3 separate regions of the Homo sapiens genome follow, and regions 2 and 3 are each linked to region 1. The links are contacts of gene promoters, found by promoter capture Hi-C in blood cells and fetal thymus (Javierre and others, 2016). All regions are on one chromosome and are shown on one strand. Each heading gives the region's core, a stretch centred on a gene start or on the middle of the fragment in contact. The rest is flanking DNA. Distances are from core to core; before and after follow the strand shown. Region 1 holds the start of APBB2 (amyloid beta precursor protein binding family B member 2). Region 2 overlaps APBB2 (amyloid beta precursor protein binding family B member 2). Region 3 has its middle 12 kb from the start of NSUN7.

Region 1 (4,223 bases), core at 1,589-4,088:
ACTCCTGACCTCAAGTGATCTGCCCGCCTCAGCTTCCCAAAGTGCTGTGATTATAGGTGTTAGCCACCGTACCCGGCCAGGTATTGTCTATTTTTAAAATGAAATTGAAAAAGGTACAGAGACACGACATACCATTTTTCTTATTTTTTCCTTCAACTTTTAAGTTCCAGGTACGTGTGCAGGATGTGCAGATTTGTTACACAGGTAAACATGTGCTATGGTGGTTTGATGCACAGATCAACCCATCACCTAGGTATTAAGCCCAGTATCTATTAGCTATTCTTCCTGATGCTCTCCCTTCCATTTTTCTTAAAAGATAAATTTAGATATCCAGTACTCAGGATAGTCCACACACATCATTATTCTAATATTATGACAAGGCTTTCAGTATTCATTCCTGTGGTAACAGAAAAATAAAAGAATTCAATGTTCATATGCTGTTTTTCTGGTGGCAGGAAAAGAAAACAGTCATCAAAAGGTTGAAACATGACAAAAAGTACCAGTTTAAAAATATTTTATGTTTGTACATGTGGATTCTTACAATATATGCAATAGTTTTTTCCCAAGTAATTTTGGAGTCAGTATTCACATTACTCCAGCTAAGTGTAAACACCAGTATTTTGCACTTTAGCTCATCAAGCTTTCTTTTTTTCAGAAACAGGATCTCACTCTGTTGCCCAGGCTGGAGTGCAGTGGCGTGATCATAGCTCACTACAGCCTCAAACTCCTAGGCTCAAGCAATCCTCCCACCTCACCATCCAGCTTTTCAATTACCACTTTATAAAAATTTCAGAAAGCCAGTTCACATTGGCTCCTTGAAGGTGAATTTATTCAGTTAAAAGTATCCATTAGAAGAGGGAATAAAAGCATAGGACCTAAAAACCTTCTGTGGAAAGGATCTCAACTTTAGAGTCGTCTCTCAAAGGCTCTCAGCAAATATCTAGAGACGTGGTTACATCCAGTTTACGAAGACTGTCGGTGACTTCGGGGTCATACAGTACATGGACAACGAAAGAACAGCAATTGAAATCTTGTACTTGTACCCCACCACCTTCCGCCCTATGATCAACCCACTGTACTCTACTGCCACCTGTGTTCTCTCGGCATTTCCCCAGCCTGGAGGTTTCCCCATTCTCGCCACAAATACCATCCTTCACGAACGATGCCATTTCTAGGATGTTGCAAGTTATGATAAACAACTGTTGAACAAATATTGCTTACAAGCTACAAGTTGAAAACGAGAAGGTTGCTACCTAAGTTCATGAAGAAATCCCCTTTCAAGGATTCCATCTGTTCCTAAAAGGCCAGCCACACAAATTCTAATACTCTGCATTATTATGGCCATTTGGGGACAAGATTTTAAATCTGAAACCATGACAAGAAAAAAAAAAAAAGCAAGATTTAAGAGAGTAAACTCCAGAAACAACAGATCAAACTGCCATTGTGTTTGTTTTTTTTAAATCAGTGAAATATTAAAACAAATGATAAACCCATGCCAACCTCACAAAGTTTCCTCATTCCTTGGAATTCAAACACCACCGATGGCATCATTTTATGATAATCCTTTGGGTATTTCACGTAAGTAATTAGACACAATGTAAAGCCAGTGACTGAGGGACTTAAACAAACTGTCCCCTCCGAGAGCCCAGTTGGAGCTTCCGACACTGACCTTATTCTCCTCTCAATTTTAACCCTCCTCAACCACTCAATCCATCCAAAAACGTCTGTGACAGTCGTGGCTCTAAAACCGCGCAGAACTTGACTACAGAACGGTCGGTGACAACTCCACATATGATTTATCCAAATTAATTTATTTTTTTGAATTCTAGTCCCATGCTCCCTCGGCTGTTTGCCCCGAACCCGTAGTCTACACCACTTCACCGACGTGAAGACCACCTTTCATTGTTTCTATGGGTCTCAGCATCCTTCCCTCCGTCCAGCTCTGTTCTCGCCGCACAAATGTCATTTCTAGCGTACCACCCTCCATTCCGCCCGGTGGGCAGCGCAGGGGCTTTCGGGTCCCAGTGGCCAGTTTCCTGGAGTCGGTCCCCTATGCACAGCCATTTTCTAGTTAAACGCTCTCTCTGCCACCGAGGGGGAAAAGGAACTTTTCCCCCCTTTCATGTCTCATGGGCTGGCCTCTGAACCCCTCGTGGAGAAGCCAACCCCGGCTCCAACTCCCCGGCAGGAGCGCGCTGCCGCCCAGGAGAGACAGCCGAGCGGCACAGCGGAGGCCGGTGCCAGGACAAGGGGGTGTGCGCTCTTCCCGCAGGCGCCCACCCTCACTTTTCCCCTCTGCAGTCCCCACCCGGGCGCACCGCCTCCAACCCGGTCTCCCCCGCCCCAGGCCCTGCCAAGCCGGGGCTGCTGAGGGAAAGAGGGCGCCGGGAAGCGGGAGGGATGGAAGTCAAGGAGAGTGAGCCCGCAGTCGCCGTGCCACTGGCCCTGCGGCGCGGGCGCAGGGCGCACGGGACTCCGCAGCAGGCGCCCCGCTGCAGATGCCGCGGCAGCTGCTGCAGGTGTGGCTGCGGCTGAGCGGGCAGCAGTGGCCGCGGAGCCCCGGGGCCGGGAGCAGAGGAGAAGCCGCCGGGGGAACCCGCAGCCGCTCGCCGCACGCTGCTGCCGCTACCCGGGTGTTTCCCCAGCACTCTCGTGCTGCCCCGGAATCCGGGGCAAAGGCAAGGAAGAAAGCTGGGCTCACCAGTGGTGCGCGCGGCGCTCGCCTCGGCTCCGGCGCCCAGCGGCTCTGCTCCAGTCTCGCCCTTCCCGGAGCGCCCAGATCAGATGCGGTTACAGCGCACTAGCTTCCTACTTGAGACCAGAACGGGCTCCGGCAACTGAGCATGCTCAGTGCCGTTCCGCGAGTCCCGCGCAGGGAGCGGCGCTGACGAGATTCCACTTCTCCAGGCTTTGGCAGCGGCTGCGCGAGGGAAGGCTGGAGGGACCCGGCGGGGAGGGGGCCGAATGGGAGAAAGGCGGGGCCGGGGGGTGGGGGCCGGGCAGAAGGAGGCGGGCCGCGCTCCCAGGGCGACCCCTGCAGGTGGAGGCGGCAGGGCCTGCGGGAGGCACCCTCCCCAATCGCCTGGGAACACGCAGGGAGGCAATGGGTCCCCCAGTAAGACCCAAAGGCAGGACGTGCAGTGCAGCCCGGGTATCCCCTCCGTGTGGCTGGTGTCTGTCTGCACCAAAAGGCAGTTGGGTTACCTTAGCCCTGGCTTTTCTCCCACACGCCAGCATTCCCTTGCAATAGGAAAATGTCCCCACAGGAGAGCTGCCCACACCCACCCAGGCTAACTGCAAGTTGTAGGCGACACCTTCTCCTTCCTTCTACCTCCTATCCCCACCCCCAGGCATATGCCGCACACACACTCTTCTTTGATCCGGAAATCACAAGATAATATCAGGGGAGAGATACAACTGCCGGAGAGGAAAAGGAGGTTTTCCTTTCCATTGCCAATAATATTATCTATAACTCTAATTGTAAGCGTGCAAACAAAGCCCTGATAAGAGTCGAGTCTCAGTAAACGGTAAACCGTGCTCTGCCCCAGACGCTGTGAATGACATCCCCAAAGTATCCTTAGGATTGCTCTTCACCAGGGCAGCGGTTGTCAAACTGGAGCCTGGATCAGAATCGCCTGGAGGGTTTGCTGAAGTACAAATCCCTGAGTCCCAATCTGTGTCTCTGAATGGGTAGATATGTGGTGGGGCCCAAGCATCTGTATATCTAACAAGTTCCCATGGGATGCTGATGCTGCTGGTGTGAGGACTATACACTTTAGAGAACCCTACCCATACACACACACACACACAGTCCTACCAAGGATCTCGAATTAAAAACTCACGTGATTCTTCCTATGAGGACTCTATGCAGTGGGGTGGGCATTACTTTATTCTTTCCTACATGAGTTTATTAAGGATCCACGAGGTCTTGTACTAGGCCTGAGGATAGTGGTGAATTTAAAAGCCCAGGCCCCTGCTTTCATGGAATTTATAGTCCGGCCGGGTGACAGACACCTATCAAATAATCACTCAAAACGGTTATTTCAAACAGGTAGAGTGCTGGGAGGGAAATGCACAAGGTGCGAATAGAGTGTATAGAGGGACCCTCATGCAGACTCAGTGAGGTTGTTACGAAGGGATGGGAGGGGGGCTGCCTTGTGGAAGGTGGTTTCTGACTTTTGCACTCCAATAACCTCTCCAATTAACAATTATCTCCCTCAGAC
Region 2 (3,995 bases), core at 10-2,509, 260 kb before region 1:
GCTGGGATGTTATAAAAGCTAGTAACAGTAACAGCAACAACTGCAAGGACACTGACGCCACTAGGTGCTGTATCACGCGCCCTGTGTCCTTCGTTGCAGGAGCTTGTGGTTTGTCATAGCTGCCCTATGAAGGAGGCACTATCTTTATCCCCATTTCTAGGGCTCAGAGAGGACAGCAGATGGGTTTACAGCCAAAAAGGTAAACTATGTCCTCATATAAAAATGGATTTTAGGCCAGGTGCAGTGGTTCACGCCTGTAATTCCAGCACTTTGGGAGGTCAAGGAGGGTGGATCACCTGAAGTCAGGAGTTCAAGATCAGCCTGGCCAACATGGTGAAACCCCATCTCTACTAAAAATACAAAAAAAATTAGCCAGGCGTGGTGGTGGGCACCTGTAATCCCAGCTACTTAGAAGGCTGAGGTAGGGGAATCACCTGAACCTGGGAGGTAGGTTGCAGTCAGCCGAGATCACGCCACTGCACTCCAGCCTGGGCAACAAGAGCAAAACTCCATCTCAAAAAAAAAAAAAAAAAGGATTCTACAGAGACCTGAGAAAAACCCAGATGGACAGCATTGGGAAATTAGAAGATGAATAAATAAGGATGACAACATAACCAAACAATGGCTACAAGGCTGAGGCTATGAGATCCACAGCTGGCTTGACCATGGTCAACTGGTGTGTCATTGCACCGAGATTCGCCCGCAGACTGGCCCTGAGCCCCAATCCACCCCGACATTCTGGGGATATTAAAAATGAGAACACTTCCAACTCAGGCCTCTATCCAGGGGCCTCCTTTAAATGCCTTTCCCCCGAATTCTGCTCCAGTAAATCCAGGCCAGCCACTCCAGCTGGCCCATATATTTCTAAAACCCTCGTGCTAGAAGCCTTAAAGATCAAATTCCTCTCTCCACATGCTGCAGAGGCTGAGATCCACATGCTTCTCCACCTTCCCTCCTTTCTAGTCTCCTGTCATCACTGCCTCTGACTGAAGGCACTGTCACCTGCTGACAGGGGACAGGTCAAGAGTGGGAGCTGAAAGCCATCGGTGTCCTTTCAAAGGGGCTCTGCGGCTCTTCGTAATTTGTGCTTTTTGTTCTTTTGTGAGGGAACAGGAAGCAGGGCCTGGAAGTCAAAGTGTAAAAATAGCAAGGCGAAGAGCCCCACAAAGTCTCTCTTGTGCTGGGAGCCTCTTGGGCCAAAAGCAATACTTGGCCTGAGAACAAGCCCATCTGTGAGCAGCAAGGACCGGCTCCTTCCAGCCACCTCAGGCGCCAGGGCTAGGGGCCTGGCTTCTGAACAAGGACCACTCCCGGGTGGGGCCAGTGTGTGAAGCAAACCCACTTCTAATAACCCTCTTCCCCCTAGGCTCACCTGCAGAAATCCAAGGGTCAAATGAAAATAGATTTGCTTCTAGCAGCAGCTGGAAATTTCCTCTCCTGCTGCGGAGGGCACAGGAAGGAGGAAGGGGTGAGCTGAAAGTCTAAATTTAGCAAGGTCTGTACTACAGAGCACAAGATTTCCCTCGGGTCCTTAGGAAGGCAATCGCTCCCTTCCCCAACATTTGTGCACCCAGGGCTTTGGGTGTGAAAGGCACGGGGTGGAGAGGAAAGAGGGAAGGTGGCTTAATTAATTCAACAAATGCTTCCTGTCTACTCTGTGCCAGACACTGGTTTAAAGCTAGGGGTGCAGAGGTGATGACAATAGATGGGGAACTGCACACCCGGCCTAAGACACTAGTTCTCAAGCATGAGAGTCACCTGGAGGGCTTGTGAGAACGTACACTGCTGGGGAGCCTCGGTCACTCTGGAGTGGGGCCCAGGAATCTGTATTTCTAACAGTCCCCACTTTTGAGAACCACTGGCCTAGGAAAAGAAAAGGTACTCATTCTTTTCTCTTTTTTGAGATTGAGTCTTGCTCTGTCACCCAGGCTGGAGTGCAGTGGCACGATCTTGGCTCAGTGTAACCTCTGCCTCCCAGGTTCAAGCAATTCTCCTGCCTCAGCCTCCCAAGTAGCTGGGATTATAGGCACACACCATCACACCCGGGTAATTTTTTGTATTTTTAATAGAGTCAGGGTTCCACCATGTTGGCCAGGCTGGCCTTGGGTGATCCGCCCGCCTCGGCCTCCCTAAGTACTGAGATTACAGGCATGCACCACTGTACGGCCAGGTAGTCATTCTTTTCCATCAAACTCTATCTAACTACTGGGCTCCACAGAAGAAGAAATGTGACGTGTGTACTCAGTCATTCATTCATCCACTTACTCATTCTTCTGTACCGATGACCTCCTATAAACGCCAAATATTATTTAGAAGCTGGGAATACAGCAATAAATAAGAGAGGCAAACAATCATGTCTGGGGATAGGGTGGGCTATTTAAGAGGATGTCTGGGAAGGCCTCTAAGGGAGTGAGGTCTCCCTAAAGTAGGAGAAGGAGCCAGCCTTGGGAAGGGACAAGAGAACAGCATTTCTGAAAGAGAGAACAGCATTTCTGAAAGAGGGAACAGCAAGGGCAAGGTCATGTGGCTGGAAAAAGACTGTATGTCATTACAACAGAAAGGTCACTCGATTAGGGGTGAGAGGTCTGTGATAAGGCGTAAAGCCCCACTGGCTAAAGATTCATCCTTTATGCAAAGGATTATCTGAAGCTATTATGTGATGTGATTTGTATTTTGAAAAGATCAGAGGAATAATCTGCACAATGTTCCCATTCTTGAAGGGATCTTTCTGATCTCTTACAAAGTCTTAGTGGCAGCTGCTACTACTGACTCTTTGGAGCAATGTTATTCTCGACGGAGCTTAACGCTTCAATCCAAACTATTTGAATTTAGCCTTAAAACTCTTTTTCAGGCTGGGCACAGTGGCTCGTGCCTGTAATCTCAGCTACTTGGGAGGCTGAAGTGGGAGGACTGCTGGAGGCCAACAGCTTGAGGCCAGCCTGAGCAACATAAAAAGATTCCATCTCCCTCCCCTAACCAAAACATATTTTTCTTTTTCTTTTTTTTTTTCTTTGAGATGAAGTTTTGCTCTCGTTGCCCAGGCTGAATGCAATGGCATGATCTCGGCTCAATGCAACCTCCACATCCTGGGTTCAAGTGATTCTCCTGCCTCAGCCTCTCGAGTAGCTGGGATTACAGGCGTGTGCCACCACGCCCGGCTAATTTTTGTATTTTTAGTAGACAGGGTTTCACCATGTTGGCCAGGCTGGTCTCGAACTCCCGACGTCATGTGATCCACCTACCTCGGCCTCCCAAAGTGCTGGGATTACAGGTGTGAGCCACCACACCTAGCCCAAAAAATATTTTTCTGATCACACGGTGGCCCTCCTCTTTTGCCTCTCTCTTTTTTTCTCTCTCACTACTTAGTCCCTTTATTTTTTCTGGCCCAAGGTTTGTGTTGTCAGAATATAGCAAGCAGGGCTCTTCACTTCCTCCAGCTTCACCACCAACTTTGGAAGACAATCAACAGCCCAGAGCCAGGACTCTGGGTTTAGATCATGAATAGGTTTGCTGAGGGTTCCAGGCAGCAAACAGAGGCTGCTTAGAATCTGAGGTGAAATTGTCTTCAACCAAAGGAATCGGCAGAAACACTGACTATGGTAAGAAAGGGACAGGCCCCAAAGTGTCCAAAATTTGGGAGCGCCCAGAATCCTGACCCACTGGCCTGCTGGAGGGGAGGAAAGCCTGCCTGAAGAGTTTCAAGGCCCTTATACTTCTTAATATGTCTTTCCAAGACATAATTTAGGTCTTGAAATGTCTACCACAGCCTCAGAAAAATTACACTTTGTATTCAATTGAACTTCCCTGTGGTAGCATTATTTTAACAGTTGTTTAAAAAAAAGAAAAAAAAAAACCTTAACAGTTCTGGGAGTGTTAATTCCCTAACACCTTTCCCCATATTTTTCATTAAAAAATTAATGTTAAGATTTCTGAGTATCTTTGAAATAGGAAGCTATTTGTAGCTGAGGATTTTTCTGTTGAAGATTCTTGAGTAA
Region 3 (3,948 bases), core at 1,240-3,739, 480 kb before region 1:
TTGGTCAGGATGGTCTCGAACTCCTGACCTCAAGTGATCCACCCGCCTCAGCCTCCTAAAGTGCTGGGATTACAGGTGTGAGCCACCATGCCTGGTCAATTTTTATTTATTAATTTTTTCAGTCAGAGCAAGATAGCTTGATAATAAATTGACATTTTTAGGGTCAAATATAAAATATGCATGTGTCTGCCTTTTATTTTACTTTTTTAAAGAAGTAGACTCTATAACTAAGGTACTACCAGAACACAGTTATCTTCTGGTTTTTCATTTATCTGTTGTAATTGACCCAGATTGCTTAAACATGAGAATGTAGCAGCAAAAAAGAAATACACAGGCTAGGAAGCAGAGCTCAATTAAGAATAGAGAAAGCAGAAGAAAAAGAGAATAGACAAGGAGTCAGATGTAGGGTTCAATGGGAAAGGCAAGCAGTTCAAACTGGAGCAGTGTGAATAGAACCATATGAGTTGAGCAATCCTAAATAATCATGCTATCCAGATTTCAAGAAAACCTTTTTCTGAGTCACTTGGAAACATATAATTCTAAATTTAAAACCAGGTAGGAGCCAGGTTCTACGGCTCACGCCTGCAATCCCAGCACTTTGGGAGGCTGAAGTGGGCAGATCACTTGAGCTCAGGAGTTCAAGAACAACCTGGACAACATAGCGAAACCCCATCTCTACCAAAAAAATACAAAAATTAGCCAGGCATGGTGGCGTATGCCTGTAGTCCCAGTTACTTGGGAGGCTGAGTTGGAAGGATCACTTGAGCCTGGGAGGCAGAGGTTGCAGTGAGCTGAGATCATGCCACTGCACTCCAGCCTGGGTGACAGAACCGGACCCTGTCTCAAAAAAAATAAAAAATGAAACAGGGTAGCATTGGCATATGGAGTAAATACTGAACTGTATTGGCATGCTTATGCTAAAAAATTATTTGTTGTTTATCTAAAATTCAGATTTAACTGGGCATCCTATAAATTATCTGGCAACCCTAACTGTACATGCAATAAAAAAAAAATAAACAACTTACCAATTTGCCAGCAGATGGCTCCCCAAATCTAGTTTAGAATGAAACAGTGCATCCAAACATAGTGAGAAGTCATTATTGTTTCAGGGCTTTTGTTTTGAGTGTTTGTTTGATTGGCCTGGTCTGGTTGGATTCATTTTTTGCCAGGGGTGGGGGGAAGGGGCAGTGATAATTTTTATTTAGTTATATAAAAATATTAAATATCTTCTACCATCATTTCATACGATTCTTCATGATCCTTAACTTTAATGTTAAAATGAAAAAGAAATCACAATTTAATTTTCTATATTTTTTCTTTTATATTTGCTCAAGCATTTAAATACCAAGGCAACATGTATAATTTCAGTATAAGGTGACTCTGACATTTCGCGAAGGAATTCCATGCCCATTAGATTATGTATGCTGAGCATCAGGTTAGGGATCTTTATAAAAACTATACCTTTGCCTCTTTCATGCAGTCCGATTTGCTACAATATTTTAGCATTGAGGCATGAGCTTTGTTTTGACTCCAAAGCACACACCCAACACTCCCAATGAAATAATTGATTCAGTGGAATTTTTAGATCTGCCACAATTTTACCAACCCTTTGCTAATGCCAGAATACCTCCAAAAACAATCAAGCTTAGGCTCCGGTGAAAAACTCAGGAACCACCGTCAAGAAACATATAATAATTAAGTTGCATTTCCCACATTTCTATTAATACATAACGTACAACTCAATTTTGGATTTTTAAAAACTGTTGTCGTATACTATTCATTCTTAGTTCCACACTGGTTTAATAGAATCCTTCAAAGAATGTGCTGAGAAACCATGATTATTCTATAATAATGGCTTTCCTGCATTGCAAACGAATTAGGCTAGAATGTTCTCATACAATGTGAAGGGCACTATTTTAATGTGGCATTCACAAAAAGAGTGTATATGTCATATTAGAAGTGGTCTCCATCCTCCAATGCTCTGTGCCCCAGGAGGGTGCCCTGAATGGAATGCATCAAAGGGCTCCCTTGCTCTCAGACTGTGGGTTGGAATCAGCCAATCGTAGATATTGCAGCAGATGGGGAGAGCAGGAAAAGTGAGATCAGAAATATGTTTCTCCAGCTCACTCTCTACTGGTGAGTTGCCATGGGTTGGATGCAAACTTCTACTGAAGGCTATAGGTTCTATCAGGTGATCTTTTCTTTTCTTTTTCTTTTCTTTTTTTTTTTTTTTTTTGGAGACAAGAGTCTCGCTCTATCGCCCGGGCTGGAGTGGTGCAAGGGCACCATCTTGGCTCACTGCAACCTCTGCCTCCCAGGTTCAAGCGATTCCCCTGCCTCAGCCTCTTGAGTAGCTGGGATTACAGTCACGTGCCACCACGCCCAGCTAATTTCTGTATTTTTAGTAAAGATGGGGTTTTGTCTTGTTGGCCAGGCTGGTCTCAAACTCCTGGCCTCAGGTGATCCACCTGCCTCGACCTCCCAAAGGGATTACAGGCGTGAGCCACCACACCTGGCCTATCAGGTGACTTTTTCTAAATAGACCTTTCCTGCTCCCTTCTCCCAAATCTGGGGTAGAGGTTCTGTTTGCTCCATTGGGCCCTTTAGGCACCAGTATCACTATACTGCACTATAATTTTCTGCCCACCCCGTTGCATCTGTAAGTATCCACAAGACTAGGAACTGTGTCTTATTTTTGTCTTACTGATAGTAGATGTTCAGTAAATCTTCACTTAATCTGATAGAAGTTTTCATAATACAAATTTAAATAATCTTTTTAAATCTCTAAAAAAACTTTTAATAATAAAAAGAGTATTTCTCTAACTCTTTTTCACATAAACAAGGGCAAAATCCTGCTGGGTCTTAAAAAATTAAGAAATCTTAAATGAGTCACTGAAAAGCCTGGTTTAATATTCTTCTCTTAATAAATATTTATTGATTTATTTATATAGAGAGATGGGGTCTCACTTTATTGCCCAGGCTAGCCTTGAACTCCTCAGCTCAAGCAATCCTCCCAGCTCAGCCTCCCAAGTAGCTGGGACTATAGGTGTGCCACTGCACCCAGCATTATAATAATTTTTTAAAAGGATTCAAAATTTTAAAGTGATTTTAAAACATAGATGAAAAGGGCTTATATTTTATATTTAATATACACTTTATAATCTTTTAGAATATTATAATATCTTATGAACTTTTTTCTTGCATATGAGATCAATGTTATATTTTTAAAGAGCTAATCATGATATCATCTGAATTTATGGGAACGATACTTAATAGGCATTATGTTATATAGAGAAAAGTATGTTTACTTAAGAGAGATCTGATCCATTCTTACAAAGCTTTGGAACACTTACAATAAATAATTTGTAATAGAGTTCATAATAGTGGAGACATTATGAACAGGTGGTATCTATTAACAGAATGTGAATTACAGATTTGGCATTTATCTAGTTTATCTAGGTAATCTAGTTATCAGCAATGCAAAATGGTTGATCTAGATAATCCAATGACAATGAAAAAATTCATTTTAAGCCTTAGATTATTTGAACCAACAATAGATACTGATCAAATTAACTAGAAAAATGACCAAAGTTAATTTTATTATGAATATATAAATATAGCCCTAAGGTAAGAACAGAACCACTTAGCATTTTATAGTGTTTAACCCTTCAGTTTCCTTGAAACTTTCACAGGAATTTTACTTCAGCATGAAGTTCAAACATATACTCTTAATTTTTTTCAAAACTCCTTTTAACAATCTCTTCTCCTACTTTAGAAAATTAAATATATTTATCCTTTTTTGGTAAGTAAATATTGCAATTTATATTTGGGTTTCACCACATTAGAATTCCTTCCTCTGAAAACATTCATTTCAAGATAGTTGGGCTAATAAATTTGTGAAAAAATTATTGGCAAAACGAAGTAGAAAAAAGGGGATTAAGTGAAGTC

Evidence for each region. Contacts are between HindIII fragments. The CHiCAGO score rates a contact against its expected background, and 5 or more counts as called.
Region 2: a contact is called between a fragment that was not itself captured here and the fragment with the promoter of APBB2 in region 1, in 3 of 17 cell types (endothelial precursors, M0 macrophages and M2 macrophages). The highest score is 9.0, in endothelial precursors.
Region 3: a contact is called between a fragment that was not itself captured here and the fragment with the promoter of APBB2 in region 1, in 1 of 17 cell types (M0 macrophages). The highest score is 5.3, in M0 macrophages.

What each region holds. Positions count from the first base shown.
Region 1 is chr4:41,211,704-41,215,926 of GRCh38, forward strand. It overlaps APBB2 (amyloid beta precursor protein binding family B member 2), which reads right to left and starts at 2,839. Exons shown (of 18, transcript NM_004307.2): 1 at 2,702-2,839. RefSeq lists an enhancer at 1,132-1,211 and silencers at 2,214-2,523, 2,934-3,103. The HindIII fragment of the contact is 4,637 bases long and covers 639-4,223 here.
Region 2 is chr4:40,952,781-40,956,775 of GRCh38, forward strand. The region is part of intron 6 of APBB2 (amyloid beta precursor protein binding family B member 2); the gene reads right to left. Among named protein-coding and RNA genes, the nearest start is that of NSUN7, 200 kb to the left of the region's middle. RefSeq lists a silencer at 1,701-1,770. The HindIII fragment of the contact is 8,676 bases long and covers 1-3,995 here.
Region 3 is chr4:40,736,054-40,740,001 of GRCh38, forward strand. No RefSeq gene overlaps it. Among named protein-coding and RNA genes, the nearest start is that of NSUN7, 12 kb to the right of the region's middle. The HindIII fragment of the contact is 1,694 bases long and covers 1,643-3,336 here.